4 separate regions of the Homo sapiens genome follow, and all the other regions are linked to region 1. The links are contacts of gene promoters, found by promoter capture Hi-C in human tissues and cell types (Jung and others, 2019). All regions are on one chromosome and are shown on one strand. The core of a region is centred on a gene start or on the middle of the fragment in contact, and the rest is flanking DNA. Distances in the headings are between cores, read along the strand shown.

Region 1 (5,898 bases), core at 1,195-3,694:
AGTCTGAGGCAGGAGGATCCCTAGAGCCCAGGAGTTAGAGGTTACAGTGAGCTATGATTGCACCACTGCACTCCAGCGGGTGACAGAGTCAGACCCTGTCTCAAAAACAAGATAGAGAGCAATTTTCTGGCTGGGTGCAGTGGCTCACGCCTGTAATTCCAGCATTTTGGGAGGCTGAGGCTGGCGGATCACTTGAGGTTGCGAGTTCAAAACTAGCCTGGCTAACATGGTGAGACTCCGTCTCTACTAAAAATACAAAAATTAGCTGGGCATGGTGGCACACACCTGTAGTCCCAGCTACTCAGGAGGCTGAGGCAGGAGAATCGCTTGAACCCAGGGGGATGGAAGTTGCAGTGAGCTGAGATCACACCACTGCACTCCAGCCTGGGAGACACAGAGAGACTATGTCTCAAAAAAAAAAAAAAAAAAAAAAATTTCAGATGGGAAAGGAAGGCAGAAGCCTGATCCACCACAAGAGGAGTGTTTCTCAATATGTAATCCAGGGACCCTCTGACAACAAAAGCCCACCCCACCCCACTCAGGCCCCTCCCCCACACTGCTGGTTGGTCTCTTTGATGTTTCTCAGACATGCCTCCTTCTCTCCTGCTTGAAGGCCAGTGCCTTTGATGTTCTGTCCACCTAGAAAGCTCTCTTCCCATCTTGCCAGATGGGCTCCTTCTGGCTCAGGGCTCCATGTAACCATCACCTCCACAGGAGCCCTCCCCCATTATTCTATCTAAAGTGGCCTCTCTGGCTTCATTCTGCAATCACGTATTTCAGCAGTTTCCCAATTCTGCCAAGCCCCCAGTAGAAGGTGAGCTCTTGGAAACAGGTCCTTAGGCAGATCCTTGTCTGTCCAGGCCTCCACCTCACCAGTAAGCCAGTGTTTTTATTCTTGTTGTTTTAGAGGCTGGATCTCGCTCAGTCACGCAGGCTGGATTGCAGTGGTGCCATCATAGTGCACTATAACCTGGAACTCCTATGCTCCACCCGGCTGGGACTGCCGCGCAGGCTAGTGTGCCCTGCGCTCATTTCTTAGGGTTAACCCTAACCCACTTAATGAGCACCCACGACTCCCCAACCCGAGCCCCACTCAAGCAGAAGGCCTCAGGCTGGTCGGCAGCAGGGTTTCTTCATGTCCTTTCTTGGTTCTCTGATGATAGGCAAAGGCAGTAGAGACAGAAAGGAAAAGAGGAACGGAGTGCAAGAGACAGAAAGGAGAAGAGGAACGGAGTGCAAGAGACAGAAAGGAGAAGAGGAACGGAGTGCAAGGCAAGCCACCCTAAGAGGCCAGCCCTGCCAGCAGCACAGATCCCTCCAAACCAATAGGTCCCTCCAACTCAGTAGATTCCTCCAACCCAATAGATCCCTCCAACCCAACCTCCAGCATCTGTGCAGCATCCTACCAACTCCGAGGCTAGGCGGCCACACTGGGAGCAAGACCCCAGGACCTGGTCCAAGTGCCCTGCACCGGCCAGGGGAGTGGACGACGAAGTGCGGCTCTGCTAGCCCGGGAGGGCTCTGGGGCCTCGGCCCCGCGGGACTGGAAGGGAAAACACCTGGCACGGTACGTACTGGCCCTAGGAATTTGGCACAGCAAGATGCTGGCAGTCCCTGGGTGGCGGTGGCAGGAAGGGCCCAAGGGCAACATTGGTCTAGGAGGTCGAGAAAAGGCGCGCGATATATGGCCCCCAGGATGTGGAAGCTTGCTTGGAGCGTTCGGCTCCAGGGCAGCAGCGCGTGGAGGGCCTCAAGGATGCAGTATTTGCCCGGGGTAGGGGGGCGAGGGACCCAGAGGCAGCAGTGCACTTGGACTTCCAGGACTTCCAGGGAAAGGCAGGAGACATGGCGCATGTGGTTCCCAGGATGTGTAAGCGCGTGGAGCGCGGCCCCGGGGCAGCGGAGAGTGGGGTTTTAATATCTAGCACATGTAGACCCTGGGGCGGTGCTGCTAGGGGCGCGGACCCGGGACCACCGGAGCACTTGCACCGCGGGGAAAGCTGACAGGGCGCGCGACCCTAGGAGGCTGCCGCGCCGCCTGGTGCGTGAAGCTCCAGGGCAGCGGAGCGCGGGGACCTTGAAGGCTGTCGCGTGCAGGCGAAGGGGCCGCAGGGTGGTCGCTCCTGGGAGAGCAGACGGGGAAGAAGGCAACGGGAGGGAGGGCGTAGCGCGAGCAGTCCCGGACGCGGGCTCAGGAACTGGCCGCGAGGAGCGCAATCCAGCAGGCGCGCCAGGGCCCCCGGATCCAAGGTGCGGGGTCCCGATTGGGCGCCTGGACGCCCCGTGACGGTGGCGCCGCTGCCACTGTCCCGAAGCGAGGCGAGGCCAGGCGCTGCGCTTTCGGCTGCCCGCCCCTTCTCCCCGCCCCGCGCTCAGTCCCCTCCCTCCGTCCCGCCTCCTGCCTCGCTCCCTCCCTCGGCGGCTGCTGCGCCGCGCTCCCGGCGCACTCGGAGCCCGGCGGGGACCGGGAGGCAGAGACGGGGCGGCCGTGGCTCCGAGGGCGGGAGCTGAGCCGGGCCCCGGGACCGAAGTTTGGCGGCGGCTCCGGGAGGCAGAGCGGGCTCCCCGGGCGACTTCCAGGCCCCTCTCGCGTCCTCGCCCCGGACCCGTGGGCAGCCGGGGGGAACGGAAGCCGCGGCCGGGCCAACTCCGAGGCGGGGACGCCGCGACGGGAACTTGAGGTGGGAACTTTGCGCGCTGCAGCCTCGCCGGGCGCCACCGAAGCGCGAACCGGACCCCGAGCCTGCAAACTCGGGCTCGGGGGCGGCTGCACGTGGCCGTGGCCCTGAACTCCCTGCGGGGGCCTCGAAACCCGCCTGCGGGGAGGCCAGGGCGACAGAGGACTCGGGAGTCACCGCTGGTGCGTGGCGGCGTGGAGCGCGCTTGTTACGGCCAAGGTGCGGGTCCGGCTTCGGTTCATCCCAAGGGGTCACCGGGATGCGAAGTCCGGGACGTTCGCCGCCGCGGTGACCCCGGCGGGGGCGCATCCCGGCTGTGGGCCGAGGTTTCTCCCCCGATCCTGGGAGGAAGGAGAGTTAGGGATTGGGGTGGGGGAGTGTGTGTCACTTGCTCATTCACTGTATCCTTAGGCACAGTATGGAGCCCCCCTTCACCCCCACCGTGGGCCTGATTGAGTCATTCATTATGAACACAGCAAGCGTTTATTGAGCGCCTACTGTGTGCTAGGCACTGGGGATACTGAGACAGTTCACTGGGCACCCCCAGGAACTGGTAGGAAGGTGGTGGTCTCAGCCTTAGGGTTTCCATGTGGGAGAGAGGCTCAGCCCGGAGGTATGGAAGGAAAAGGGTGAAGTTCATTCATTCATTCATAGATTGGACAAAGATTGGTTGAGCACCTATTGTAAGCAGCTCATCATACCAAGCGCTCAACAGTCATTCATCCAGTTCACAAACATTTATGGAGGCGCTATGCTGGGGAGAAGTGAAGAGGGATGGAATGGGGGCACCCTTCATGCAGCTTAGAGAGAAGTAAGGATTAAGACCCAGGCCCCCGCTTGGGAGGCCGCAGACTGCCGGGGTGGCCAACTGTAGCAGCCCATGTATATAGGCAGAAGTCTTGGTTCATCTAATGCATTCCTTCTCAAGGTGGGAGGTGTGGAAGCTGGAATTGGTTCTAGAATAGGAAGAAAAGATCTTTTCAAAGCTCCTTAGGGGCGGGTGATGGGGTAGGGTGGGGAGGAGTTGAGAAACACTGATCCGACATTACTGAGGAATGCAGGTTCCCACCAATGGGGTTTATGAGTTAGGTTGTCCATTCAGCAGGCATTTTCTTAAGCACTCGCTGTTATTAAGCACTTAAAGGGTGCCAGGCACCAAAGTTACCCAGGTAAATGACAGACACATAGAAGAGGGAGACAGACACAGACGCCCCCACCCCCTTTGCTGACTCCCTGAGATAAGTACAGGGGGAAGTAAGAGGAGGGAGCAGGAACTGGTCTGATTCATTGTGGGGTGGGGGAAGTTCCTGCCCTATGAATCTGAGCAGAGGTTTATTCATTAGTGTGTGTTTGATACCCCCATACCCATGATGGCAGAGTCCCTATGAAGAGCCTCACCGGCAGCACATCTCCAAGAAAAGTTTGGCACTGCTGATTGGGGCCTTGCGGTCGGCACTGTGGCTAGGGCATGCTGTCCTTCTTTGGGGGATTTTTCAGGCTCTGCCAGACCTGAGCTCTATTTGTGCCTCCCCCGGCTTTTGGAGCCCTGCAGAGTCGCCTGATAGGAGGGGAAGGAGGGAAGGTGTGTTTGAAAAACAGGCAAGCGCTGGCCCCTGGGGATCACCCTCCTCAGTCATTCTCGAAGCCAGCCCGTTCCACGGGAAAGATGTCTGTCCTGGGACACACTCCTAACCTGCAGGGAACTGCAAGCACACTGGAAACGAGGCAACCTAGGTTCTTCTCCTGAGACTTGAGAGCCCAGGCCCGCAGCCTACAGCCTGGGTTGTCAAACCTTGGGAGTAAAAAAATCAACCAAACCCCTAGTTTTGCCAAACTCTGGGTTGCCTTTTTGGCCTCTGGGAGGGAGATGTGACATGGGAGGCAGAGGTTACTTGCTTCTCCCCATCCCCAAAGACTTTCCCGAAGCTTGTCCTGGAGCCTGATTGGGGCAGATCTGAGCACCACTTTGAATTCTCTGCACCAGACCCACAGCTGGGCTCTGGCAAGAGGTGAGGGAGGTGCCTCAGGAAACAGAAGAACAAAGAGATGTGTGCTGGATGCAGGGCTAAGCGACGCAAACCAGCTCCGAGGAACTCACCTCCTGGAGCCGCAGTAGGTACCTTGGCTCGGCTGTCCTTTCTCCACCCTGCTTTCCAATGTTGATGAAGAGTCAACATTGCCTGTTGCCAGAGGTCTAGGGGTACAGGAATCTACCCTTGGTTGTTGCATTAAGCCCAGAAATGGAGCCTGTGGGTGAAAAATGGCAGCTGGTAAAGCCCCTCTAAATAGAATTAATAAAAAGGGAGAGGCGAAGAACCTAGCTGAAGCACTCCATTGCTGTGGACCATTTTTATCATCCAGCAGACTGTATTTGATTAACGAAATCAGAAATGAAGTGACTTTGCTACAAATAGGATCTGAATTGTGCCTAAGACTGTCCGTTGCCCTGAGGTGAGTCTTCACTCTCATACCCACACCTCCCCGGGCAGGTCCGATCATGCTCTCCCTCCAGAGGACTCTGGTAAGCAGGTGTCTCCCTTCCTGCCGTCCTGAGGTCCCCACTGCTCCCCCAAGCCTGCTTCTCTGCTTAATTTTGAGCTACAAGGAGGCAAAGAGAAAAGGATCTTCTGGCTCCAGTCCCCAAACACCTCCCCGTAGAAGAAGGCAAACGCAAACGTGCATTTGGTGTTATTTTGCTTGCCTGCAGCACAGCAGGGAGGCTCCCGAGGCAGCCTGTCTTTTTTATAGGGGGGAGGGACACTGGCACTTTTTCTCATTTGGGGGCAAGGGAGGGATGGAGGGAAGAGCCTAGCTCCCAGCACACAATCTCCCCAGGAACTTGGGCCCCAGCTTTCAGGAGGCTGGGCCAAGGCCCAGGGTGGTGGGACTGTGGCGAGAACAGACAGCAGGTGGCTAAGAAAGATATATTCTCCACCAGGGCACAGCAGCTCTTGGAAATCTAACATGCCAGGACCCGGGCCAGGCTAATGGTTGGATCCATTTTGATTAACGTTTTAATTGGGGATTAATGCAGCCTGACCCGCCTCTGAGTCGGCTCGGCCAGAAGCCCTAATCCTGACAGATGAAGCTATACTGGCAGTGAAACGCTGCAGGGCCTGGGAAAGAGTGGCATGGAGAGAGACGGACGGGTCCCCGAGACACCCACTGGGAGTGAGGGAATGGCACAGGTTGAGAGGCATGGTACGAGAGAGAGAAACCA
Region 2 (5,898 bases), core at 947-3,446, 210 kb before region 1:
AAGTGGGTGTGGTTGGCTCACACATTGCTTTTACCCTGCGGTGGGTCAGCCTGCCCACAGGAAGCCACGAGTCCCCTACTCCTGTGTGCAGCGTCCCTCGTCCTCACGGGGGCCACTCCAGGGCCAGCACACGACAGGGAGGCTGGGGGCCAACCCCAGACCAGGACCAACTTCACCAAGTGTTTAATTCTGTCCAACTCTAGGGTATGGTTTTAGGAAGTCACATTGACCCTCATCTGGGCTACAACTTCCAACTGAGCATTTATTTGTAAGAAGTCAGAGGTAGTAGAGTGTGGAGGTTTCGCGTGCTGTTTCCAGAGCCACAGGGTTAAAATTCAGGCTGGCCATGTACCCGCTGCGTGGCCTCAGCAAGTTCATGTAACCTCTTTGTGACTCAACTTCTCTATCCATCCAATGAGATAAAAATGGTAACTGCCTGTCAGGGTTGTTATGAGAACTAAATGTATTAACACATATAAAACACTTAGAGTAATGCCTGGCCATATATTAAATAAATACTCTGTATGCATTAGCTGGTGCAGTATTTTGGTTTCCATCTGTTACTCTTATTCTTGATTTTTAATCTGTTTAGACAAGCGCTGCCCAATAAAACATTCTGTGATGAGGAAGCGTTGTGTCTGTGCTGCCCAGCACGGCAGCTGGTAGCCTCGGGCACCTGGTAGCCTCATGGGCTCAGTGGGTACTTGAAATGTGGCTACTGAGATAGAGGAACTGCATTTTAAAATTGGTTTCCTTTTAATTTGTTAAAATGTACTTTTAAATAGCCACATGTGGCACATGACTCCTACATCGGACAAAACAGGTCTCGAACTGAGTGGAGAAGAGGGGTACGATTGGTTGATGTTTCTCAGAGATCCCCACCAGAAGGAATTATTGTTGGAAATCCTGCATAGTTACAAGACTTGTGACAAGTGAACACAGGACTGGCATTTACAGACCTGCTGCGGCTGCTGCTTCCTGTCCTGATGTTTCTGACTGTCTCACCCAGGGGTCCCTTCCTCTGCGCTGTTTGGCTGGGTGCTCAATGATGTCTATGGAAGATGGGTTTTGGAGATAAAGATACCGAGGTTTATCCAGGGGCATGCCTGCCTCTGGGCCCCACAGCCCATTAGTGATTGCAGCACAGTGATTGGGAGACTAGAAACAGATCCGCAAGCCAGCAGATGACTGACACAGGCCACCTAAGGTGGCCAAGCTTTTACAAGCTCCTCCTTAGAGAATAGCAGTTAAGTGTGTGGGTTCTGGGGTCAGACTGCCTGGGTTCAATTCCCAGCTATGCCGCATTCCTGCTGTGTGACTGTGGACAGGTGACTTGCCCTCTCTGTGCTTTAGTTGCTGAATCCGTTGCAGATTCTTTACCACTCATAACTGTCTGGCTAGAGAGAATCATTACTCTCAGCAAGGCTTCCTAACTTGCCTGAGCTCACTTGCCCAGTAAGTCAGTCATGGAATGGCAGGCCAGGTCTCACTAACGCAGGCCTCCGTAACAACTGTTTCAGTGCTGAGTGCTGAAGTGAAATATTAAAAGCTGAGAGAGCCAATGCCCTCATACAAAGGCTGGAATGTAACAAAGCCCCACCCAGAGTTTTGCCTAGGCTCTTCCTGGGCCTTAAAGCATGGCAAAATAATGAAGGAATTCTTAACAGGACCCGTTTAGGATTAAACAAGTTTTAATGGGGGTCTGAAGAAACTTCCCAGGCCTTCACAAACAAGTTGACTGGGGCTCTGAAGGAACTCCCCAAACCTCCATGTTCTAGCAGGGGACAAGATAAGGGTAATCACCCCAGCACCTGGACGCATTGAAATTAAGTAAATTTACTGAGGCTCCAGAGGAAGGTCTTCGGGACTCGGGCCTTCATTGTAGATTAAAAGAAGTTAATCACTTATGTCTTTAGACGAACGCACACTTACACGTAGACATATAGCTTAGAAGGTATATAAGCTCTGGCAAACTTTATCATTTTGAATTGTTCTGGGGATCATTTCCAGGCCTTCTCCCTTTAACCGGTTACAGAAATAAAAACTCTCTTCCTCCCCAGTTCATCTGCATCTCGTTTTTGGGTGGTGAGAAATTGCAGCCCAGCCCTCAGTTTGGTCCGGGAACGATGGGGCTGGAGTTTGGAGTCAGGATCCCCAGAGTCCGGACTTCTTGCCAGTCTCCCAGACAGCTGCTGCTTCCTGCCCTGGCGTTCCCAGCAAGTCAAAGGGAAGGTGGCCCGGCTCGGTGCTGCCTGTAAAACTCCCTTCCCCAGTACACAGGACCTAGTTTTCTCTTCTAATAAAGCTCAGCTTCGGTTTAAAAAACAAATCCATTTCCAAAGCAACCTGAGGCTCTGACACCATGCTCACAGGGAGGGCGGCTCGGACCCTGCCTACTGGGAATCACTCCTGCACCAGAGAACATTGTTAGGAGTTTGGGGACGGCTGGGTTTTGTTGATTTTTTTCCCCTCTCAGAATCCGGACCACAAAAGTTTCCAGCTTTCAAGTGCCTATTTCCCCCCATCGAGATGCTTGGACATGCCCCACCTTTGGGCAGTTTTAAAGACTCCCAGGCCATCTTCCCCTCTGCTGCCCAACTCGCCCCTGCCCGTCTGCTGCAGCCACCTTCCTCATCGTGGCTGGAGGAACGTAGAAAAGGCAGCCACAGGCCCCACAGTGTCTGCACTGAAAACCCTGGCAGGGGGTGGAGAGAGGAAGCAGGATGAAGCAATGCTTGGCCCCAAGGGCTCTCATGGTGACTTCAGGCAGCAGCAGGACTCAAACTTGGGAGCTCAAAGAGTTCTGGAACATTCTTCCACTTCTCTAGCCTAACAGACTCCTCTTTAGAGGACTGGCATAATCCTTAGACTTTTTTTTCTTTTTCCTATTGAGATAATATAACGCTCTCCACAATTCACAGAATAGTAGAAAAGAACCTTCTTCCAAAAGACTCCCCCAACTTCTGAGCAGGCAGCTCCCTCCTCTTTATTATGCATGTTCCAGAAAGCCCTTAGTAGGTGGATCTCCGAGCTCCCCCAGCTCCTCCAGAAGATCCTAACATTGCAACAGGATGGGCTCAGGTCCTCCTCCACCTCCAGGAGAAGACAATGGGAAGGGAATGAAAGGGAAGCCCCCAGACTGCCCTCCTGGCTCAGGCCCCCAACTTCTCCCCCGGACTCTTGCAGGAGCCTTCCTCTTCCCCAGTCCTCCTGTCCTCACCTTCGTACAGCCAGAGTGACCCTGCAAATTGCAGGGTCAGGTCATGTCCCTCCTCTGCTCAGAGCCCTCCAGTGACTTTCCCAGCATACTTAAATAAAGTCCAGCTCCTTACCAGGGCCTGCAAGGCCTCACTCAGCCTGGCCTTGCTGCCTCCCCCAAGGGCCCCATATAGCCCAAGAGAGATGGGTCCTGCCAGAAAGCATTGGCAGGGATCACTAGAGCTCTGTGCATTCTCTGGGCTATCAAACACATGAACAATTCTGTATGCAAACAACCTCAAACAAGAGCAAAGCATCCTGGCTTCAGACAGCAGCACAAATGCCGCACCACCAACAGGCTAAATTAGACTTAGAAGTAATGTGTTGGTTTGGGTCTGCCTGTACTAGGCTGGGAATAGGATTTTAGAAGCATGGTTAAGAGCTGAATCATGATTCAAGCACAACATAAAAGTTCAGCAGCACTGTGAAGGGAAGAATAAGAAAACAAGCAAAATGAGGTGCGGTAGGCTCTCTGTGGTAAAAATAATAATAATAATAATAAAATTAGTTTGCAATCATTCCTTACCTGAGAATTATTCATATATTGAGGAGGCAAGAAAGTCGCCCGAAGTCAAACTTTCTATCAGCCTGACAGACTGGGGATGGGATCTGCTGCCCTCACGGCCCCTCCTTGCCAGGGGGCTTCCACCTGAAATCTGCACCCATAGGAGCCAATCCACAGCACCCAGGGTCTGGGAAAATGGGCCACGTGGGAGAGAGGGGCCAGCAGTTTAGTTTGGAGTCCCTCCAATCAGCTGGCTAAACCTCCACTGGCCCTCACAACTCCCAGCATGGAGGCCTCACTCCTCCTGTGGCCCACGAGGTCTTAGCAGTAGCCCCTGCCCACCCCTCTGACTGCATCTCATAGGCCACCTCCCTTTACCCTCCCCTCCTCAGACACCTGTTCCCAGTTCTGTGAATATGTCCAGCTCCTTCCAGCTCTTTTACCCTCACACGTGCTGATGCCTCAGCCTAAAGCATTCTCCCCTCTTTGCTTAGTGAACTCCTATCATTTCTCACCTGCCTCCCCGCTTTCACCTTGCCCTCCCTCCATCCCCAACAGTCTATTCTCCCACAGCAGAATCGTCATTTCAGAATGTAAGCTGACCACGGTGCTTCCCTCCTTTGTTCTAAGTCCTCCAGGTAGCTACTCTCACCTTATCTTACAGTGAGTGCCAGTGGAATATATAACTATTCCCCTACTTGCCCCCTTTCTCCTACAACACGTGGATTCAGTTATGTGACATTACCCTCCCTCCTTCCCCTCCAGCCTCCTTGTCCCCTTTGTATATTAAAGTCCTCAAAATCGTCTTTGGAGAAAGGCACAGACCACAGACTGTTTCTGTGATTTTGTGTTTCTTCCAAGTGTGTCCTTAACCTTGGCAAAACAAACTTCTAAGTTGATTGAGACCTGTCTCAGATACTATTTAATTAAGTTTACAACATACTAGATTTCAAAGACTTAGTACAAAAAGAAGTAAAGTATCTCAATCATAAAGTTTATATTGATTGCACATTGAAATATTTTTGATATGTTGGATTAAATAAAATGTATTATTAAGATTAATCTAATCTGTTTGTTGGTCGCATAAATGTCTTCTTTTGGAAGTGTCTGTTCATATCCTTTGCCCACTTTTTAATGGGTTTTTTTCTGGTAAGTTTGTTTAAGGTTCTTGTAGATTCTGGATATTAGACTTTTGTCAGATGGGTAGATTGCAAAAATTTTCTCCCATTCTGTAGACTGCCTGTTCACTCTGATAATAGTTTCTTTTACTGTGCAGAAGTTCTTCAGTTTAATTAGATCCCATTTGTCAATTTTGGCTTTTGTTGCAATTGCTTTTGGTGTTTTAGTCATAAAGTCTTGCCGATGCCTATGTCCTGAATGGACTTACAATAGGAAAGACTTGGAATCTACCCAAATGTCCATCAATGATAGCCCGGATAAAGAAAATGTGACACACATACACCATGGAATACTATGCAGCTCTACAAAAGAACGAGTTAATGTCTTTGCAGGGACATGGATGAAGCTGGAAGCCATTATTCTCAGCAAACTAACACAGGAACAGAAAACCAAACACCACACGTTCTCACTCATAAGCGAGAGCCAAACAATGAGAACACATGGACACAGAGGGGAACATTACATACTGGGGCCTGTCAGGGGGTGGGGGGTAAGAGAAGGGAAAGCATTAGGACAAATACCTAATGCATGTGGGGCTTAAAACCTAGGTGATGGATTGATAGGTGCAGCAAACCACCGTGGCACATGTATATCTATGTAACAAACCTGCATGTTCTGCACACGTATCCCAGAACTTAAAAAAAAAAAAAGATTAATCTCACTTTTAAACTTTTTCCATGTGCCTACTAGAAAATGTAAAATTATATCTATGGCAACATTTACTCTTGTATTATATTTTCATTGGGCAGCACCACTCTAGAGTTGCTGGTAAATAATACATAAATCATCAAATAAAATTAATTGAGGTCATTTTAGAAAGTGATAGTGGTTCTGAAGCAGATAGAATAGGATGTGGCTAAAGAGTGATAAGGCAGAATGTTTGGGGAGGGGGGGTCTTTCGATAGAATGGTCAGTATTGTGAGCCAAGTTGTACCCTTCCAAAATTCATGTGTTGA
Region 3 (5,898 bases), core at 1,401-3,900, 160 kb before region 1:
TGCATCTTCCTTGAGTACCTTCCTTGCTTATGTCTTACAAAGTACATAGGTGTTGGTTTACAAGAAAAAAATGGAATTATGATTGGCACTCCAATGATAAACATTGGCTTCACTAACATCAGACAAATGCCCTGCTGTCTGTTCCCCTGCCCTTCTGCATACATAGTACCATTGCTGAGTCAGATGGGTATAGCGTTAAGATATCTTAAATGGAAATTAAAATTCCCACACATAATAATTCTAACAGTGCATTCAGCCCAACAAAAGCAACAGCCATCTGAATGACCTTAATGATGATTTCACAGGAACATGCGATGACAACCATAACTTGACTACTGCCCCCACCATGAGCAGGCATGAGACAGCAGCAGTTCCATCGACTGCAAAATTATCCCAGTTTCAAAGATATTACAATGGGGGATGGGGCTGCATTTCAGAATTTATGAAATCCGCCATTTATGTTATTTGTTTTCATTCCCTGCCCCAGCTTAGAACGGAAGCTCTATGAGGCAACGGATTTTCATGTCTTCTATTCTCTGCTATATTTTCAAACCCTAGAACAGCAACCGGGACAGAGCAGTCAATATCTGCTGAATGAATGGCTCAATTTTGCCCTCGATCTGGCCCACTGTCAGAACTGTGTCTGTTCAGATTGTATTCTATGGACAGTCCTACATTCAAGCTTTGCTCCCTACCGTGCAAATCTTGTTTATAATAATTTGGCACATAGATACCTCATGCATCAGATGTCGTGTAAGATTATGCCAACATAAAACTTTTACATACAAATAAAATTTGAAGTTTATTTTACAAGGTTTGCATTTTGACCTCGAACACAATCATTGACCAACATTTGTTGAATGCGGTTGTTATATTCAGGATGCAATACTACATTCTCAGGGTGTAAATGGCACAAGCAAGTGAGAGAGTCAAAGCATGTTTGTAAAAATACATGGACTGGCACAACTCCCGTTCTGTGCTGACCCAAGCCAGCACTGGCCACACCTGTTGTCCTTGCTGTTCTCCCTAGCCTCATACCCTCAAAAGAGGACCTTGAAATCCCCCCTCCAAACAGCCACTGCCCCTGTGCCAATTGCAGGGGAAGGATGTGGAGGGTGAAGGCCAATGCTGAGCAGACCCAGCTATCATTTCTAGAACCATCCTCTGCTTTTCAAAATGTCAAGTCTGTTCTACTGGAATAGAGTCACAGCCTTTTCCATTCCCCACCCGACATTTCTCCTAAACCCAATTTGCATTTTATAATTACAAAAACAATGCAATCTTGGGAGTCTATAATTATTTCAAAATTAAAAAGTGACACATGCTCATTGAATTAAAATTATAAAAATTAAACAAGCAAATATGAAGTGAAAGTTTCCCATCCATCTCTCAGAGGCAAACCCTGTTTCATTTGTTAAATGTCCTTCCAGACTTCTTTCTATGTGTACCCAATTTGTGTAAGTTCTCCTGTTGTGAAAGTGGAACCATTCTATACGCACTATTCTGGAATAAACTCTCACCATTTATTGAAGGCATCACATCCATATTCATATCCATGTCTATAGTACAGATATATCTGTACTATATCCGTATCTATACTATAGCTATCTATATCTACAGCCATAGCTACAGCTACCTCATGTTTTTCCTTTATACATCCTTCATTGGGAAGCTCTGTAAAACTTGTATTTCTGTTGTATGCCTGTACCCCAAGTTTATTCAAGCAAGTCTTCTGTATGGATCATTTCCACAGGAGGCGATAAATCACATATACTCATATAAATTTTGCCTTTTGTATTTCTGTAAAATACATTTCTAGAAGTAATTTCTAACGTGCATTTTTCAATTGATGATACTGATCAATCACCCTCCAAAAAAACTGCACTGTGAGGTCCCTTTTTTTTTTTTTTTTTTTTTGAGATGGATTCTGGCTGTCACCCAGGCTGGAGTGTAGTGGCATGATCTTGGCTCATTGCAACCTCCGCCTCCCAGGCTCAAGCAATTCTCCTGGCTCAGCCTCCCGAGTTACTGGGATTATAGGCACATGCCACCACGCCCAGCTAATTTTTGTATTTTCAGTAGATACGGGGTTTCACCATGTTTGCCAAGCTGGTCTCAAACTCCTGATCTCAAGTGATCTGCTAAAATGCCTCCTAAAGTGCTGGGATTCCAGGCGTGAGCCACTGTGCCCAGCCTAGATCCCCATTCTTTTCATGTGCATTGAAATACCAATGGAGTACCTTCTGTGTGCCAGATTCTCTTCCTGGTGCTGGGGAAAACAGCTGCGAACAAAAGGAAGTCCCTGCCCTGGTGGAGCTTGTCGTCTAGAGAAGGGAACTGGACAGTGAACAAATACAGAAGCTACAGGTCACATGATGATAGAAGCTATGGAAAAAAAGCAGAGTAAGGGATGGGGAGTAGCTGGGAGAGTGGGGGCCATTCAGATGAAAGAGCCAGGATACCTCCTTGAGAAGTGAAGGAACTGGGGCTGGAGAGATGCAGGTATCTGGGGGAAGAACATTCCAGACAAATGGAAAGCATGCCCACCAAACAAGCCAAGGCTCTCTACCAAAACTCTCACCAACGTGGCCATAGTCGTGACTTCTCTATCTTCAGAAGTTGGAGGTAAAATAGATACATATGATTTGAAGTAAAACATTTTTTTCCTCATTTCGTGATCATTTATAATCTGTTTTTGGGAATTGCCTGTTTGGTGACCTTTGCCATTTTTCTCTAGCGGTGTCTGATTTTCCCTCACAGATTTCTAAGAGTGCTTTCTACTTGAAGGATATTAAGACTTTGTCAATTAGGGTGCAAATATTTCCCAGATCTGCGATTTTTCTTCTGACTTGATCCTCATGCCTTTTTCCATAGGGAAATTGAAGTTTTATGTAAACAAATTTGACAATCTTGGATTATTTGGGATTTTGTGGTTTTTTAAATGGCCTTTCCCAGCCCAGAATTATATGAATGCTTTCCAAAAATTTGAGTCCTTTTGTATTTTAATACAAAAGGATTAAACTCACCACAGGTAGTTCTAATGTGTGTTAATATGTTTAAGACTGGAATTTTTTGTGGGGGTTGGTAGAAGTATATGGTATGAGGTGGGAAATTTCACTTTTTTTCAGGGGATATGCCAATTATTCTAACTTTGCTTCTCAAACAATAACTGGGTGGTTTGAACTCTGAGGCTGGGTTATCTCAGCTAGAAAATAGCTCCACCCTTCACCAGCTTTGGGACCTCAAAGATGTCCCTTCACCTCTGTATCCCAGAACTCTCATCTGTAAAATGGGTTAATACCAGTATCTGCTCCTTAGGTTGTACCTACCTACAATGGACCTACAATAACGTGGGACTCCAGTGAGGCTCAAAGTGAGCACAAGGTGAGTCTTGCAACTTGCATCAGTGCAGGACACACGTCCTATTGAAGTCAGAGCTTGCTTCAGACTCAGAAAGCAATGCCATTCTAAGAAACATGAACAATCAAAGCTGTGTTAATCGCCTGTATTAGCCAACCATTTATGCTGAAAATGATCCTATAGAAGGGAAGGGAAAGACAGGGCACTCCAGGGTTCCTTTTCCTCTCAGTCCTTCCTTAATCATCAGCAAGCCGAAGATGGGGAGTTGGTAACATGTGAGCACAGCAAGAAGTGAAATAAAGGCAGTTGTTAGTTTTGGACAAGTGTTAACTCTTCTGCTAGGAATGAAATATATATCCATGTACAGACTACACAATAGGAAGTGTGTGTTTTCAATGATTCCATATATGAGTTAACTCCTTCTATATTTGCGTTCTTAACGGGCGTATAATATAAAGATGAACAGTAAAATTCATGCTAAACATTGTTTCTTTACTTGGAAGGACACTAAATAACAAAAAACTCTATGATGAGAGACAAAAAGAGAGACTATGAAAGAAAAAGAAACAATGTTTTCGTACCTTTAGTGATACCTTTTTTTGCTTTTTGATCAAGAGTCTTATATTTTCATTTCACACTGGCCCCTACTAATTATGTAGCCAGCTCCATCCTGGCACATAGCAGGCACTCCATAAATGTCTGAATAAATCAATGAATGCCCCTGCAGTAAATACTGATAAAGCCTAGGGGAATGGGGGAAGTAGCTGGCACAAGTAAGGTGAATGTGTGCATCTCTGCCAGCTCTCAGACAGCAGCACAACCATTAACCCAGCTCCATGCTCTGTTATCAGCAGAAGTCCACGTGGGGCAGGAACTTCTCTAACAAGAGCATTTTCTATTTATTTATTTATTTATTTATTTATTTATTTATTTATTTATTTATTTTGAGACAGAGTCTCACTCTGTTTCCCAGGCTGGAGTGGAGTGGCGCAATCTCAGCTTACTGTAATCTCCGCCTCCCAGCTTCAAGCAATTCTTCTGCCTCAGCCTCCTGAGTAGCTGGGACTACAGGCACGTGCCACCATACCAGGCTAATTTTTGTACTTTTAGTAGAGACGGAATTTCACCATGTTGGTCAGGCTGGTCTCGAACTCCTGACTTCAGGTGATCCACCCACCTCCCGAAGTGCTGGGATTACAGGCGTGAACCACTGTCCCTGGCTCAAAGCCTTTTCTATCCATTGCCATTCTCCTTGCAAATCCCCACAGGCCAACAGGAGCTACTTACAGAGCTCGGGGGCTTAGACGTGAAGAACACCTTCCTGGTAAGATGCTCCCCAAGATTTGTCCCCATCTCTGAACTCCCTGTGCCTCGTGGCTGTTCACTGTAGCCTTCAATTCCCAGGCCCGCCACTCTGCAGACTGCTTCCTATCTGCTCCTCTGAGTCAAGGACTGCTCTTGTGCGTTTTCTAAAAGGGCTAAAAGCCACATGATGGCCTGGGCATGGTGGCTCACACCTGTAATCCCAGCACTTTGGGAGGCCGAGGTGGATGGATGGCTTGAGTCCAGGAGTTTAAGACCAGCTTGCGCAACACGATGAAAGCTCAACTGTACAAAATTATATATATTTTGTATATATGTGTGTATGTGTGTGTATATATATACACACACACATATACACACACATATACATATGTATATACACACATATATGTACACACACATTTATACTTATATATATGCACATACATATATGTACATATATGTGTGTGTATATATATACACACATACATATACGTATATGCGCGCGCGCACACACACACACACACACACACACTCAAAAATTAGCCAGGCGTGGTGGTGCAGGCCTGTAGTCCTAGCTACTTGAAAAGCTGAGTGGGGAGGATCACCTGAGTCCAGGGAGGCAGAGGCTGCAGTGAGCAGTGATTGTGCTGTTGCACTCCAGCCAGAGTGACAGAGCAAGACTCTGTCTCAATTTAAAAAAAAAAAAAAAAAAAAGTGAAAGCCACATGATGATCTGCCCAATTCATTGAGCAACCTGGAGACGCCATGGACTTCATGCTTTCAACCTCCTGTATCTTTAACCAGATCCCATTATCAGCCAGCCGTCTAGCTGGGAAGTGCTCCAGCCAGCTATTTGTGGCTTATCTTTGCTGAAAAGACTAAAGAAAAGAAAATAGACTCCTTCAGACTCTTCACTTAGTGGTTTCCCCTTCCAGACACAGAGGAGCAGTCTTTCCTCCCACTTCCCTCTGTTCCTCCACCCAGCATCGTGGAACAATGTGCTTTTGTGTTCTTTCTGTCCTTTGCAGGTTGTAGCTTTGGCCTTTCTAATTTACCCTCCCAGAGGAGTGCTATTTAGTTAGGAGCATTTCTAACAAAAGCCAGGTTTCTGTCCACTTCCCCTGGCATTCTGGTTTGCCCTTGAACTCAGCATCAAGTTCTGGGGTTAGCCCGTGTGGCATCTTGCTCGCCTCCTACTGATCTTCTTGCACCACCATAGTGAGGACCACATGT
Region 4 (5,898 bases), core at 2,118-4,617, 130 kb before region 1:
GACACCTTGTTAAGACAGGAGTGATATTCTTATCCTTTTAGCTGCTGTTACTCAGGGGTTTTGGAGCCAAACAGACCCTAACAAATATGCTTTTCACCTTTAGAAATCAATCAGTCAATCAATAGTGTAAATGGTTATCTCAGCTCAGGAGGATCGGTTCCACCAGAGATTCAGGGGAAAAAGCCAGTTGCCTCTCTAAGCTTGTTGTCATATCCTCCTCTGACATGTCTGGAGTCTGAGAGGCAGAGGAGACTGAGCTGGATGTTTTTGCATCTCCTTAGTTTAGAACATTGGCCACTGTTCCTGTGGGTCACGGGCATTCAAGGTCTGTGTTAAAAGCTTCAATCCCCATGCCACTATCTGGGGCTGATCTGAAGCCAACTGCTCTTACTTTTCTCATCTCCTTCCCCGCGCTCCGGGTACAGCCCACAGCCATCTGTGAAGGGCGCTTTGCAGGCATCATCCTTATCAATGTTTTACGCATCTGCAGGAGGCAGCAGAACCCATGGCCAGGCTGCTGCGGCCTCCCATACACAAATCCCGGCTCCTCCTTCCAGTCAGGTCCTAGGTCCTTCTCATTTCTGCATCAACAAGCAGAATGCTGAGGCTAGCGGAGGGCACATCAATGTTTTCTTGGTTTCTCATTATTTTGTCTCCAGCCATCCCACAGATACTAATCTTAAATTCCTAGTATATAACAGTGAAAGGGGCTGGATGCAGGGGCTCATGCCTGTAATCCCAGCACTTTGGGAGGCCGAGGCGGGTGGATCACCTGAGGTCAGGAGTTCAAGACCAGCCTAGCCAACATGGGGAAACCCCATCTCTACTAAAAATACAAAAAATTAGCTGGCTGTGGTGGCACGTGCCTGTAATCCCAGCTACTCAGGAGGCTGAGGCAGGAGAACAGCTTGAACCCAGGAGGCGGAGGTTGCAGTGAGCCAAGATCGTGCCACTGCACTCCAACCTGGGCAACAAGAGCGAAACTGTGTCTCAAAAAAAAAAAAGAGTGGAAGGGACTTGGCTTTAGGGAGCAGAGAGCCCAGGGCATTCATTTCACAGATGGGAAGACTGAGGCTCAGAGAGGAAGTGGTGTTGGCCCATGTTCACACTATGACTTAGAGTCAAAGCCAGAACTAAAATCCAGCTCTTCGTGAGTATAGGATAATCTCTTAAACATAGAATAATCTCTTAAACATAAACAGATGTATATACCTATATGCACATGCAAGTATAACAATCAAGTAGAAGGCTATTCCTTCTTGTTTTTTTCGGTGAGATCATAAACTCCTTGTGGTCAAGTGTGCATATGGTAGAAACTCTATTCAAACGGGGTTGATTATTTAAAGGGGCTTACTGCCTCTCATAAGTGAAAACTCTAGGGACACATCTAACTGGATCCAGTAGGCTAAGAGATCCCCTCTGGATGTTGCATCTCCAAGCTCTGCTGCCTTCCACACAGGCTGACCCACCCCGGAACTGCTAACCTTGGTCAGAGGACGCGGTGCTCAGCCCCTCCTCAGCCACCTGAACCGGAGTGGGTACGTCCTCCAAAAGAGCACTGGTGCTGTTATCAGAAGAGGCGGGAAAGAGGGATTTACAACATCAGATGCCCACCACAGTAAGGAATGTACCTTAGCATCCCTTCATTTCCCCCATAGGTCCCTGTAAACCCTAAAAACAAAACATACCTGACTCCCACATATGTACGAATGAATGAATGTGTGTTGAATAAGCACTCACTGAGCTGCTGATTATTAGCACTGGTGCTGTACACTTATGCTGCCATCCCCAAGGACTGCCCTGTGTCTCTTCATCTTTCCCCACTCCCACCCCACGCTCTCTGCAAGATACTGGAGCAGCCCACGGGTAGGAAAGGCAGCAAGTTACACATTTGGATTGCTCTAGTGAGTCAAGAAATGCCCCTGTCGAATGCTGGCCAAAAGCTGCTCTCCCAAGCACTCTCTGCTGTGTGGGAAGGCCAACTTTAGCTGCACAAAGGGCTATTGCACCATTGGTAAGGCCACAGGTTGAATCTGAAAGACCTAGGTTCGAGTTCCAGCTCTGAACCTCATTAGCTGAGGGTCCTTCTGCACATTCCCTCCCTCTCTGAGCCTCAGTGTCCTTATTCAATAAAGTGAGCATAATACCAGACCCTACCTGGGAGGAATCGCGTGAGGGTCACATGGCTGTATGGCAAGCCCGTGGCTCAGTGCTTGAAACATATCACAGATGATCATTATTAGCTATCCTCAGTTTCACAAGGATGCTCTTAACCCATCGGCACCCAACATGCTTATTAGATGAGCGCTCACTTTGCAAGGAGCAGACCACTCCTGCCCTGGGGTGACTGGGCCACAGACACACCTTAATAATAAGGGAGACAGGGAGGGGTACCAAGTAGAAGATAAAGCAAATCCATGGGGCTATCACAGTTGATAAAGGACTTCTGCAAACATTAGCTCATTTAATCCTCACAATCATCCTATGAGAGAGAGCCTGCTATTGTTTCCTTTATGCAGATGAGAAAAACAGGTTCAGAAATACTAAGTCATTTGCCTAATTCACCCAGCCAGCAAGTGACTCCAGGACCATTGCTCTTTGTGGAGCTGGAGGTGTGAGCTGAGGCAGGGACAGAGGTCATCTGCCATTCTTTCCCCCTGTCATTGCTGAGAGGAACCCATTTCTGAGTTTGTGCAACTGTGAGTAACTCAACCCACCCTCTCTGTCAGAGAGGTGGCATATGTCCCGTGTCCACCCAATTACCAGTCAGAGTGCCCCATCTCCCAGCCACAGAGACTGGGGCATGGACAGGTACATGGCCCAGACAGGACCAATCCAAACCTCCCAGGAACCTCATGGAACTGAACCCCCAAACTTCCCACTCAGTAAGCCCCACTTCTCCCCTGGAGAGGAACCTCCATGATTCCCTGGAAGAGAATTAAGGCATCTGTGAAACAGGACACAGATACACATGTAGCCAGATGCTGAGCTGCCTTTTACAGCCTCCTCTTCACTGTTTTAAGAGCACCACTCTGCCACTTCCTGCTGTGATCTGGGACGAGTGCCTAAGCCACTCTGTGCACCCCCTTCTTCTCTGCAGAGTGAGGCTAGCACTAGTGCCTTCCCCGTAGGCTGCTGTGAGGGGTAAATGAGACGATGCCTGCAGAGGGTTCAGCACAGAGCAGGGTGTGCAGGAAGCATCAATAGCTGTCAGCTGCTGCGATCTTTTTATCTTACCCAGGCCTGCCTGCATCTTGTCACTTGTCACCCAAGTTATAATCAGCACCTAAAAGCTTCTGCTCTCTCAGCATGTATCTGTCGCTTTACTGTTGGACCAGCTGGGGGAAGGGCTGCAATCATTGAGTCCCCAAAGGCTCGCTTCCCTAGCTCCTCTCCATTCCAAAGGGGATGGATAAAAACTTAAAATGATCCCAGCTGCCATCCTTTGAGGAGTGCCTTCTTGGCTTCCTTTCTCCAAAGCATTCTCAGCAAATGGCACCTCTCAGAGGGCCCCGAGCTGAGGCACCAACCACGGCGTTCAGTGATCATTCACAAAAGTCCTCCCGGAACTGGGACCGTTCCCTGCTGAGTCTAATTCATCGGAGATGTTTTTTACATTTTCACCTTCCTCGGACTATGTGTTCTGGAGCCCTGAAAATAAAGCCTTTTTGGCATTCCATCAGTAAGGATTTCTCAATAGCCATGAACAGAAGCCAATTCTGGAAAACGTAAGAGAAAAAAAAATGTACTGAGAGAACGTGAGCCTAGCAGCACTATTCACAACAGCCAAAAGGTGGAAACAACCCAAATGGCCATCAGCTGACGAATGGTTACGTAAAATATGGTCTATCCATACAAGGGAATATTCTCCAGCCTTAGAAAGGAATGAGGCATTAACACAGGCTACAATGCAAGTGACCCTCAAACACCATTTGTTAACCAAAAGAAGCCAGGCGCAAAAATTCATGTATTGTATGACTCCATTTACATGTAATATCCAGAATAGGTACATCCAGAGACAGAAAGCAGTTTTGGTTGCCAGGGTCTGGGGAGAGACAGGAAGAGGAAGCGATTGTTTCCCGGGTAAGGGGTTTCCTTTCCGGGCGATGATAATGTTTTGGAACGGGATAGAAGGGCTGGTTGCACAGCATTGTGAATATACTAAACGCCACTGAATTGTACGCTTTACAATGGTTAGTGTAATGTGAATTTTACCATAATTTTTCACAAAAAGAAAGATCAAAGGGTTAAGATTTTTTTAAAAAAATAAAAGGAATATGGGCTGGCCCAAAAGATAAAAGGAAAGCTAAAAAGCCGGGTTTGGGAAAGGGCAGGAACCAGGGCAACCCCGTGGGTCTGGGTAGCGTGGGTGGAAAGTCGGCTAGGCGTCATCCTGCCCCAGGCAGCACCCGCCATTTTTAATCCTTGAGTCAAAGACCCACACAAACCTCAGTCCCAGGCCCAGCTCCTGACAGAAGAGGGCAGGAAGCCTGGACCAACGGTCTCTCCAAGCTGCACAAGAGAAGAGAGATGGGAAGATTCATATTTTGTTGTCAAAAGAAGGGAGACAGCGGCTGGGAAGACAAAAATATACGAATTTGTGGGGAAGGAAGCTGGAGATGTGAACTGGGGCAGGGATAGAGGTCATCCGCCCTCCTTTCCCCTGTCATTGCTCGGAGGAACCCATTTCTGAAAAAGATATCATTCGATAGCTGCCCTGTTGCCCTCGTGCAGCTGTGAGTGACTCAACGCACCCTCTCCATCGGAAGGGTGGCATATGGCCCCTGTCCATCCAATCACCAATCAGAGTGCCCCACCTCGAAGCCACAGAAACTGGGTCATGGATGGGCACATAGCCCAGGCGGGACCAATCCAATCCTCGCAGGAACTTCATGGGAAGACCCCTCTTTCTGCAGGAAGCCCCCACCTACCATCTGCAGTGCAGTGGAGCGGGAGAGTGGTGTCAGATCCATCTGAGCCAAGTGGACTAAGAGTGAGGAAGGGGAGGTTCCCCACACACACACCAAAACAAAAAAAACAAAAAAACAAAAAACAAGGTGCTGCTTCCAGAAGAAGGAATGTGAGCTAGGTTGGTCAAAACAACAGATGGTCATCACAGACATTGCCATCAGGAGGTTCACAGGACTGTGCTGACCTGCTGCCAATATCAGATCATGGGTCCCCTGGTGGTCCCAAATTACCCAGACCACTTAACCCTCAATTCCCAGCTTCTGGAAGGGGGGAGTCCAGGTCAGCAGGTGATTCAAAGATCCCCAGTTGAAGCATAGAGTATTTGAATTAGCCCCCCAGGTTGGATGCAGCACTCGGATTATTTAAATTTTATTTGCAACTCACGGCTGTCTTGCTGACACTGTAATTATTTTGTCAGGATGCTTCTTTAGTGCCAGGCTTTGCTTTCCCCCAGCAGCCTCCCTAGGGCTTGGTTCTGAACAGAAGGTTGGATGTAGATTAGCCAGAAGCAGCAGGACTGCAACGGTGCAGCAGCCGAAGCTGCTGTGTGGTGAATGCAAGATGAGGCTTGAGGGTCTCTCTCGGCTGGGCCACCTCCGTCACCTGCTCATCTCCAGCAAATCTTGTTGGAAATGACTTGCTACTGCCCAAGTATTGACAGTCAGCCCCACCACCTCTCAAGCCAAGCCAGCACCTGGTCCTGTCTATTCTTCTTCCTAAACCTTTCTCAAACTCCATCTTTTTCTCACCCATTCTTTTCTCTGCTACCATTCCTTTGCCTCCTCTGAGCATCCATCTCACCATTCTCTGTTCCTCCACCCTTGACCATCCAGAAGCCATCATTATCCCTTCAAGGATCATCTGACCTTATTATCCACTCCTTTCACCCATTATTATCCTTGGACAGCTCCCTATTGCCCTCAGAAA

The links. Contacts are between HindIII fragments. The study calls those that stand out against the background at their distance.
Region 2: a fragment that was not itself captured here is called in contact with the fragment with the promoter of KCNG1 in region 1 in 3 of the 25 tissues and cell types used here (H1 embryonic stem cells, dorsolateral prefrontal cortex and mesendoderm cells).
Region 3: a contact is called between a fragment that was not itself captured here and the fragment with the promoter of KCNG1 in region 1, in 3 of the 25 tissues and cell types used here (IMR-90 fibroblasts, dorsolateral prefrontal cortex and mesendoderm cells).
Region 4: a fragment that was not itself captured here is called in contact with the fragment with the promoter of KCNG1 in region 1 in 2 of the 25 tissues and cell types used here (H1 embryonic stem cells and spleen).

The regions. Positions count from the first base shown.
Region 1 is chr20:51,019,653-51,025,550 of GRCh38, reverse strand. KCNG1 (potassium voltage-gated channel modifier subfamily G member 1) reads left to right here and starts at 2,444. Exons shown (of 3, transcript NM_002237.4): 1 at 2,444-2,681. RefSeq lists a silencer at 2,346-2,515 and an enhancer at 4,240-4,803. The HindIII fragment of the contact is 10,697 bases long and covers 310-5,898 here.
Region 2 is chr20:51,234,285-51,240,182 of GRCh38, reverse strand. No RefSeq gene overlaps it. Among named protein-coding and RNA genes, the nearest start is that of KCNG1, 210 kb to the right of the region's middle. RefSeq lists an enhancer at 2,550-3,136. The HindIII fragment of the contact is 3,322 bases long and covers 536-3,857 here.
Region 3 is chr20:51,176,681-51,182,578 of GRCh38, reverse strand. No RefSeq gene overlaps it. Among named protein-coding and RNA genes, the nearest start is that of KCNG1, 160 kb to the right of the region's middle. The HindIII fragment of the contact is 9,439 bases long and covers 1-5,898 here.
Region 4 is chr20:51,154,015-51,159,912 of GRCh38, reverse strand. No RefSeq gene overlaps it. Among named protein-coding and RNA genes, the nearest start is that of KCNG1, 130 kb to the right of the region's middle. The HindIII fragment of the contact is 3,101 bases long and covers 1,817-4,917 here.